Regions from separate parts of the Homo sapiens genome. Here regions 2 and 3 are each linked to region 1. Evidence: promoter capture Hi-C in human tissues and cell types (Jung and others, 2019). All regions are on one chromosome and are shown on one strand. The core of a region is centred on a gene start or on the middle of the fragment in contact, and the rest is flanking DNA. Distances in the headings are between cores, read along the strand shown.

Region 1 (3,146 bases), core at 460-2,959:
CAGAGTGAGACTCCACCTCAAAAAAATTTTTAAAAAAATGAAAAAAACAACAACAACAAAAAACAGACTTTCATGCTCCTTCTCCAGGAGGGGTGAGGAAAATGTACCCATTTCTCTGATTAAAAACTTATTTTTTGATCAAGAGGTGGTTGTTTAAAAAAAAAAAAAAAACTATTTCTTTACAGTTTCTTACCATGAGTAAGAAATATAAGCAGAATCAGAGTTTTTAATGTCTATCTTAGAAATGATAGGCTATTGTTTAAATTATTTTGGAATTCCTTATGCTTTTTTAAAAAAAAACATTATGTCACCAACCTTATGCTCTTTATAATAAATGCAAATCACTTTCCAAGAAGTTTGGTGTATAATGTGAATTTAACTTACATCATTTAGCCCAAATAATGATCTTGTGATAATTTGATAGCAACTTATTTATTGAATACTATTCTGTCTCATGCAGTTAGCTAGGCATTGTGAGGAAATAAAAGTAGTAAAAGCACAGTATTTTCTTTTTAAACATTAATGAGTTCACTTACTAACATGTAAAATAATGAAAATTTTAATGATAAATAGAATACTTAAAGGCTTTTTAATTTTTTAAAAAAAGACTAACAGGAAAACATGTGCTTAAGGACTAAATTCTTTCCTAGTAACAGTGAATGGTAAAAGAGCTAAGTAGTGGAAAATGAGCATTAAAGTCATCAGAGAGGTTCTGTGGAAGCTATGAGGCCCAAGTGGTGGCTTTGGAATTGGATCAGGGAGGAGACATTTCAAGCAGGGGATCAGTGATCTCATGAGCAAAGGCACAGGGGCAGAGTGGAGCACAGGCTCTAGCAGGAGCCATGAGGGGACAGCATACTTACTGCATGACTTTCCTGTTGGAGTAGTAGGGAACAAGCCTGGGATGGGTTCATTTGATGGGTAAGGAAGGCTTTAGATTAGCATCTAACATTTGCCGTAATAATGTTTTGTGTTGTTGAAGCCCTAAACACATCGTCTTTATAAGCTTTGAAATAGATGGATAGGTGCACCTTCTCTAAATAGGATGTGACTTGAAGAATGTTTTTTACTTAACCATAATTTTAGAACTGAACAAGTATCCTTAGAGGTCATTACTGTGACTAAGAGAGATGAAAGGGCTGTCCCAAATTTACATGGTTAGCCTGTGGCAAAGCCAGGGTTAAGAACTCAAATATGGGCCTGGTATAGAGGCTCATGCATGTAATCCTAGCACTTTGGGAGGTCAAATCCGGAGGATTGCTTGAGCCCAGTTGTTCAACGCCAGCCTGGGCAATGTATGGAGACCCTGTCTCTACCCCCAAAATAATAACAATAATAAATTAGAAGGGCATAGTGGCACACATCTGTGTCCTTAGCTACTGGAGAAGCTGAGAGGGGAGGATTGCTTGAGCCCAGGAAGTTGAGGCCGCAGTGAGCTGTGATTGCGCCACTATACCTGGGAGACAGTCAGACCTTGTCTCAATTAACAATTCCCTTTTTTCTTTTTTTCCTTTGAGACAGAATCTCGCTCTGTCGCCCAGGCTGGGTGCAGTGGCACAGTCTCGGTTCACTGCAACCTCCACCTCCCAGGTTCAAACAATTCTCCTGTCTCAGCCTCCCGAGTAGGATTACAGGTGTGCGCCACCATGCGTGGCTAATTTTTGTATTTTTAGTAGAGACAGCGTTTCATCATGTTGGCCAGGCTGGTCTCTAACTCCTGACCTCAAGTGATCTGCCTGCCTCTGCCTTCCCAAAGTGCTGGGATTACAGGCATGAGCCACCACACCCAGCAGAGATCTTGTCTCAATAAAATAAAAGTAAGAACTCAAATATGTCTGCTGGTGCCCAGCTGTTCTCTCCCTCCTTTCCCTCTATAGATTTTTTAGAATATTTAATAATAATAATAAAAGAAGAAAAATGGCTGGGTGCAGTGGTTCATGCCTGTAATCCCAGCACTTTGGGAGACTGAGGCGGGCGGATCACCTGAGGTCAGGAGTTCGAGACCATCCTGGCCAACATGGTGAAACCTCGTCTCTACTAAAAATACAAAAATTAGCCGGGCATGGTGGCAGGCGCCTGTAATCCCAGCTACTCAGGAGGCTGAGGCAGGAGAATCGCTTGAACCCGGGAGGCAGAGGTTGCAGTGAGCTGAGATTGTGCTATCGCGCTCCAGCCTGGGGGACAAGAGTGAGACTTCGTCTCAAAAAAAAAAAAAAAAAAAAAAGAAGAAGAAAAAGGAAAAGCTGTTCTTGAAGGTAGCCAAAGGTTCTGAGATTGATTCCTACCTTCAACCTGAGAACATCAGAAACATCTTTCTCCTATAATTTTCTGATTAATTTCACTGCAGTAATCCAGAATGGGGTTGTTTTATTACATTTGTGTTTTGTGATTCAAGAACTAAGACAAATATATTAATCCTATGAAAAAACATATTGCTTTTAATATTTTTACTAATTTAAAAAGGCGTTTATCCAAGTTTCATCACCTTTTCTTCCCCTCTGCTCAGTGTATATGCCACTTGTGAACCTTCCCGAGGATGCTGTGGTTTGTTCTTTAATTCATCGTCATTTTTCTGGCTTAGACAAGTAATGAGTACTTTCATCTACTTAAATGACCAAGTATTTCATCTGTCTAATAACTGCTGAGTCTTATTTGTAAGTTATGTTTTACCAGATTTTTGAGAATTATAAAGATGAATGGATAAGTCAAAAGTCTCAGAATTAATTTTAAAATTAAAATGGGCTTCAGAAATTATGTAGCACAATTTTTTTTTTTAATTCTGGATGAGTAGTGTAGCTCTAACAGTCTTAAGGTCACACCCAAAGTTAAGTGGCAGAGTCAAGATTAGAACCTGGGTCTCCTGATTCTGTTTTCTTTCTTTTCTTTTTTTTTTTTTTTTTGAGACGGAGTTTCGCTCTTGTCACCCAAGCCGGAGTGCAGTGGCGCGATCTTGGCTCACTGCAACCTCCACCTCCCGGGTTCAAGCAGTTCTCTTGCCTCAGCCTCCCGAGTAGCTGGGATTACAGGAGCCCGCTACCATGCCTGGCTAATTTTATATTTTTAGTTGAGACGGGGTTTCTCCATGTTGGCCAGGCTGGTCTTGAACTCTTGACCTCAGGTGATCTGCCTACCTTGGCTTCCCAAAG
Region 2 (3,146 bases), core at 1-2,500, 430 kb before region 1:
TACTCACACTAACTTTCCTGTGTATATCTCACAACACAGCCACACAGGCCTTGGGACACAGCATGGGTGCGCAGTCAGATGATCTCCTCTCCCCTTCCCTCCTTGCCCTTTCCCTTCCCTTACCTCCACAGGTAATCACTGTCTGCAATCCTATTCCAATGCTATGGGAGAGAAAGGAAGAGACAAGCAGGCAATCAGTTACATCAGAGAGCAAGGGTAATCCTCTGCTATTATTTGTTCTGGGAGCTGGGCCCGCACAGGTTAATCAGATGGGATTCCAGCTCTCAAAGCACTCTCAGTGTGGGGAGATAAGGAAATGGTAACAACAGAGACCTATCACTGCTAATACAGGCACTGGGTATTCCCATGAATTCACAGGAAGAAGTGTTGATTTCCTAGGGCTTGAAATGGGAGCCTCAAGGACTGTTTAGTCAGCACAACTCCTGGATATCAGCTTGTCCTTTTCGTTTAACAGAATATGAGGCCCTCAGTATGAAGAATGCTAACCCCCAAAGCCTCAGTGTAACCCTCTGCTATTCTGCAAAGTGGTGCTCAAACTGGTCGAGAGAAGCAGCGGGCTTGGGGGGCAGTGGGAGGTGGAAGGCCTTTACCTTGTTCACCTGGGAAACCTGCAGCAAGCCGAACAGGTCCAGGAAAGAGAAGATTCGCTTCAAAGCTAAGTCAGGCAATCGGATCTCCATTTCATGCGGCCTGAACCCACATCCACTTTCCTTTCTCCTCTCCGGGCTGCTCTGAATTTATAGGCTTTGCCAAAGTCTGCAGCACTTGTAAAGATTTTCACCCATGCCCATCTGTGTGCGGTAGAAACAAGCTGCAGGTGTGCAGACTCCCGGGCTGACCTCCACCCCGGCCTCTCCCCTGGGGCCTGATCCACACAGCTGGCAGGCATCCCTACCTAAACCCACTTGTTAGTGCTGTTCATTGTTTAGAGGAGCTCAGCAACACCTGTGCGCTGTGAGCTGGAGGTGCAGAACCTGGGGCAGCCCCAGTTGCAGATGAAGTTGTCAGAACCCTTTAGGAAATGTCACCGAGTGCACTCACTTTGATCAGATCTGAGTGTCTCTATGACTCTATTTAAGTTCCAAACTCCTGGAATTGGAGTCTGCTTGCCCTGTGTCTGTGCCTACCTTGGGATCTTGAATCTGGTGAGTGGGGCTCATCTCTCAGCGCCAGCATGGCCTCTGGGTTTCTACCTTCTCGCATTTAACTTTGCAGTGGAGGAGAAAGAACGTGCCAAGCTGGCTTCTCCACAGAGGTCCGCCCAAAGGGAGCAGGCCTTGTCTGGGATGGCTCTCCCAGCTGGTGGCTTTCCCTGGGATGTGACGCTTTCCCACAGTTACAGATCTCCCAAGAACCTGACAACTCATTCTGGGATTTTCTAAAGACCGTGTCATAGCCTGGGTGTTTGTGTCCTCTCAAAATTCCTACGTTGAAATTCTAACCCTTGGTGTGATTGGAGGTGGGGGGCCTTTGGGAGGTAAGTGGGTCACAGGCAGAGTCCTTATGATGGGACCAGTGACCTTATAAAAGAGACCCCAGAACGCTCTCTAGCCCTGTTCATATCATGCGAGGACATGAGAAGGTGTCAGCTGCAACCTGGAAGAAGGCCCACACCAGAACCTGACCGTGCTGACAGGTGACTCTTGGACTTCTCTCCTCCAAAATTGTGAGAAATAAATTTGTTTGTAAGCCACCCAGTCTATGGTACTTTGCTGCAGCATAAGACAGGGGTCCCTCTGTGAGGCTCAGTGGCCAACCCTTCTTAAAACTGCTGCCTCCAGGCAGACACACGGGAGTGGTTGTCGGGAGTCCCATTTATGATACAGTAGTAAGAGAGAGGAAAAATACAAATTGACATGGTGAGGAAATAAAAAGGAAAAGCAAAGACCAAGAAGCACCTAGAGGGGCGTGGGGAAAGGCGAGTCAAGGGGTGTGTGGAGAGGAGTGAGAAAAATACAAGGGTAAAAGATTTGTATTCCATAAATAGGAAATAATGCAGAGAGAGCCAGAGCCGTGGAAGGACACAGGAAGACAGAAAGCTTGGAACGGACTCTATTGTAGAGGAACAGAATTAATGCAAAGATATAGAAGGCTGAGAAATAAAACACTTTAAAATATGACAAGGGAAGAGAAGAAACAGTAAAATAAAGGATATTTTAAAAGTATTAAAGCACAAATATTATAAAATACACAGATAGGAAATATAACTGTAAGTGGACTGAGACAGAGTAGGAATAAAATGGAAAAGAGGACAGATGAGAAAGAGGCAAACATAAGGAAACTGAAGCAAATTGCCGAATGAGTGAATGAATGAATTTGAAATAGAGGAACAGAGGCCAGGCACAGTGGCTCATGCCCGTAATCCCAGCACTTGGGGAGGCCGAGGCGGGTGGATCACCAGGTCAGGAGTTTGAGACCAGCTTGGCCAACATAGTGAAACCCTGTCTCTACTAAAAATACAACAAATTAGCTGGGCGTGGTGGCGGGTGCCTGTAATCCCAGCTACTTGGGAGGCTGAGGCAGGAGAATTGCTTGAAGCTGGGAGGTGGAGGTTGCAGTGAGCTGAGATTGCGCTACTGCACTCCAGCCTGGGCGACAGTGCGAGACTCCATCTCAACAACAACAACAAAAAAAATAGAGGAACAGGAAGGTGTGTTGGGGGGTGGTGGTGGCGGGGTGCTACCAGAAAAGCGGCAGAGAAAGACACATTGCAACAATAGATGAAGACAAATCTAAATGTCACAAGAGTTAAGAGATGTAAAATTTGAGAGATGTGAAATGGTAACTGCGTAATAGTCTAAGCAAAAGATAAGATGCAGGTGAGAGAATGGTCCGGACATTGTCTAGGAGAAAGTAGATTAAAGCAGGCAGCTGGGGAAACCTGAGAAGAGGGATCCATAAGGAGTTGGGCAGCCTGAGAGTAGGACAGAGAGGGAGGGACGACACAGCATGGGAAGTAAAGGGGGCGTAGCAAGGGGAGAAGTAACAGCACACCTTTCATGGCGCCTTCTGCAGGCAAGGCACCCGTCTAAACAATTTACAGGGGCTCATCTATTTAATCCTCACAACGGCTAGATGAGGTAAGTCCTATTACTGGCCACCTTGCCAGGGTGCTCCGTGTTCTC
Region 3 (3,146 bases), core at 433-2,932, 360 kb after region 1:
TTAAGCTGCACACAAGGGAAGCAGAGATGGGTTGGAGGCAGTTAAGGGTGCGTTGCTGCCTCTGTGGCTGAGGTGAGTGCAAAGCCCTACATGGTCCCCTGTTTAGAGAAGGCTATTGTTTCAAACATATTTTACTTGGTCCCCGGAGGCAGCATGAAACTATGAAAGAAAGAGCCTTACCCCTTTTTTCAAGGCTCTCCAGACCACAGTTCTGGGATGGGTGTGGGTGGTTGCCATTCGTTCATTTATGCCTGTCTGATATGGAGCCTCCCTCTGTTACCAGCCCTGTGCACTCAAGTGCCTTGCAGTCCAGTGAGGAATAACTGTAGATAAGATGAGATGATGGGCATTAAGTGTAACTGCTGAGAAGCCTTCATAGAGGGAAAGGTGATAAGAACTGAGTTTTTCTGGCATGAGGAGTTTACCAGGCAGGAGAGGTGGAGACGCTAGGCTAGGCAAATAGGCTGCAGCCATAGTTCTGCTGAGAAACAGGTTTTGAACCAAGGCAACTCCATCTGGAGATATGTATCAGAAAGATTAGGAGATAGAATCTCCATCTTGGTCACTTATTTGGTCTTCTAAGACAGCAATGGGACCGTCTCTTAAATACTGGAGTTGTCCTATCTCCTTGGGCTGATACCCTGAACTGTCATTTGGGTGAGTAACACATTAAGGGGTAGACGGTCGGTTTGGGGGAATAAACTAAGTAACTAGGTTGCGGTTCCTCCTGCCGACTAAGCAGACCTCCTGGTGCGTGGTCTTGGGTTGCCCTGTGAGCCCTGAAGCTGTGAATGGGCCCCACAGATCACTCTAAAGCCAAGCATCCATGTGTGCCCGGCTGGGGATCTAGACCCCCCTGGTCTACCCAGGAACCTGAGTTTTGGTGGTCTGAGACACCTGGGGGACGACGTATCCCGGAGAAGGGACCAGGATTAAAGGCCGCTCCCCAGGCTGCCCGGAGACTAGAAGGAAGGCGAGGTAGCCGCAGTCCCAGGGAGGGTCTTACCCCTTGCTCCCGGGATGCGTTATGGCGGGCCTGGCTGTGCGAGATCTAGGCTAGTGGCTTTGGCTGCGAACGGATTAGATCTGATCCGATTAGAGCCTGGGCGGTCGGCTTCGCCCCCTTGCCAGGCTCTGCCAACGCCCGCCCCTCCCTCGTGGAGACCCGGAGACCTCCCTGAGAGCCTTCCCGCCCGGAACACGGGATTGGTGCAGAATCCGAGAGGCTCCATGCGCCCCGGGCCTGGCTTGTTTCCACAGTGGGGGCTCGTGCTTCCGCCCCCTGCGGCTCTTCTGGACCCCGCCCCGACCCTGCGGGTAACTGGGCCCGCGACGTCCCCGCCTCCGTGCTTGCCGCGTGGCGGGTGGGTTCCTCCGGGTCGGGGCCCCGTGCCGCCTGTTCACCTGGGGCGGGACCGTGGCCCCATCCCACAGGTCTCCCGCCCGTGCACCTGCCGCCTAACGCCGCGCGCCGCGCCGTGCGCCTGCCTCGCGCTCCCCGTCCGCCTGCCCCGCACTCCCCGTCCGTGTGTCTCCTAGTCCCCAGCGAGGGGTCTGTCTGTTCCCCTGGCAGGCTGACCAAGGGGCCGGCGTCACCGCTACGTGCGGCGGGGCCGGCGCGGCGGGCGGGGTGAGGGCGGCGCTGAGCGCAGCGGCGGCAGCGGCGGCGCGGGAGGCGGGGAGGCGCGGCGCGCCGGGGACAGCGGCGGACGGCGGCGGCGGCGGCATGCGGCTCCTCGCGCTGCCCATCGTGGGCTGAGGCGGCCGCAGAACCGGCGGGAGGCGCGGCGGCCGGGCGAGCCGAGGGCGCAGCCAGCCGGGCGGACCGCGGACAGCGGTCGGGGCGCCGCGCCATGGGGCGAGCCGGGGGCGGGGGCCCGGGCCGGGGGCCGCCGCCACTGCTGCTGTTTCTGGGGGCCGCGCTGGTCCTGGCCTCTGGGGCCGTGCCGGGTAGGTATGACTGCGCCCGGGACCCCCGCGGCCCTCGTGCCCCACCCAGGGCAGGGGTCCCGCTGGCGGCGGGGACAGGTGGAGCTGTGAGCTGTGGCAAGGGGGCGGGGCACCGCCTGGCCGCGGCCGGGCGGCGGAATGGTCCCAGGAGGTGGTGGGGGTCCGGGAAAGGCCGACCCGCGTGGGGGCCGACCCCGGTTGGGGTAGCCGGGACCCAAGCGCGCGGGCCGCGGTGCGGACTGGGGGCGGGGCCGGGGGCGGGGCCGGGGCGGGGCCGGGGCGGGGCCTGAGGGTGAGACTTCGGGGCGGGACCTGGAGCTGAGGGCGGGAGCCAGTGGACGCGGCTCAGGGTGGGTTCCCGAGGGTGAGACTTATGGGTGGGCCGAGCTGGGGGCCGCCCTGGCCTGGCTCTTCAGACGGCGGGGCAGGTCGGGCGGGGCCGAGCCGCGAGGCGTTGGGCGGGGTGTGATCCTCGTCTTGGGGGCAGACTCCGGGACGGGGCTTAGAGGTACCGGGTGGCTGGGGTCACACTGGGGCGGTGGGGTCTGAGGGTGGCGAGGTCTGGGTTGACCAGGTCTAGGCGAGCGGGCCTGACCGGGGCGGGCCGGGGCTCCAGGGCTCCTCAGCGCGCCGCCCTGACGTCCCGCCCCTTGCCCTCCCGCCCGCAGCGCGTGAGGCGGGCAGCGCGGTTGAGGCCGAAGAGCTGGTGAAGGGCAGCCCGGCGTGGGAGCCGCCTGCCAACGACACGCGGGAAGAAGCCGGCCCACCAGCGGCTGGGGAAGATGAGGCGTCGTGGACGGCGCCCGGTGGCGAGCTGGCCGGGCCAGAAGAGGTGCTGCAGGAGTCGGCTGCGGTGACCGGCACCGCCTGGCTGGAAGCTGACAGCCCAGGCCTGGGAGGAGTGACCGCAGAGGCGGGCAGCGGCGATGCCCAGGCCCTTCCAGCTACGCTCCAGGCTCCCCACGAGGTCCTCGGGCAGTCAATCATGCCCCCTGCCATTCCTGAGGCTACAGAGGCCAGCGGGCCACCCTCCCCCACCCCCGGCGACAAGCTGAGCCCAGCTTCTGAACTCCCCAAGGAGAGCCCCTTGGAGGTTTGGCTGAACCTGGGGGGCAGCACACCCGACCCTCAAGGGCCAGAGCTGACTTACCCATTTCAGGGCACCCTGGAGCCCCAACCGGCATCAGATATCATTG

What was found. Contacts are between HindIII fragments. The study calls those that stand out against the background at their distance.
Region 2: the fragment with the promoter of FBXW12 here is called in contact with a fragment that was not itself captured in region 1 in 1 of the 25 tissues and cell types used here (dorsolateral prefrontal cortex).
Region 3: a contact is called between the fragment with the promoter of CSPG5 here and a fragment that was not itself captured in region 1, in 2 of the 25 tissues and cell types used here (bladder and lymphoblastoid cells).

Annotation. Positions count from the first base shown.
Region 1 is chr3:47,936,735-47,939,880 of GRCh38, reverse strand. The region is part of intron 3 of MAP4 (microtubule associated protein 4); the gene reads left to right. Among named protein-coding and RNA genes, the nearest start is that of MAP4, 78 kb to the left of the region's middle. RefSeq lists a silencer at 736-936. The HindIII fragment of the contact is 4,708 bases long and covers 1-3,146 here.
Region 2 is chr3:48,370,323-48,373,468 of GRCh38, reverse strand. It overlaps FBXW12 (F-box and WD repeat domain containing 12), which reads right to left and starts at 1,250. Exons shown (of 11, transcript NM_207102.2): 1 at 1,149-1,250; 2 at 612-785; 3 at 124-161. The coding sequence starts at 701. The HindIII fragment of the contact is 16,322 bases long and covers 1-3,146 here.
Region 3 is chr3:47,577,401-47,580,546 of GRCh38, reverse strand. It overlaps CSPG5 (chondroitin sulfate proteoglycan 5), which reads left to right and starts at 1,682. Exons shown (of 5, transcript NM_006574.4): 1 at 1,682-1,950; 2 at 2,619-3,146. The coding sequence starts at 1,854. RefSeq lists an enhancer at 353-1,057 and silencers at 2,182-2,231, 2,272-2,331, 2,382-2,471. The HindIII fragment of the contact is 21,614 bases long and covers 1-3,146 here.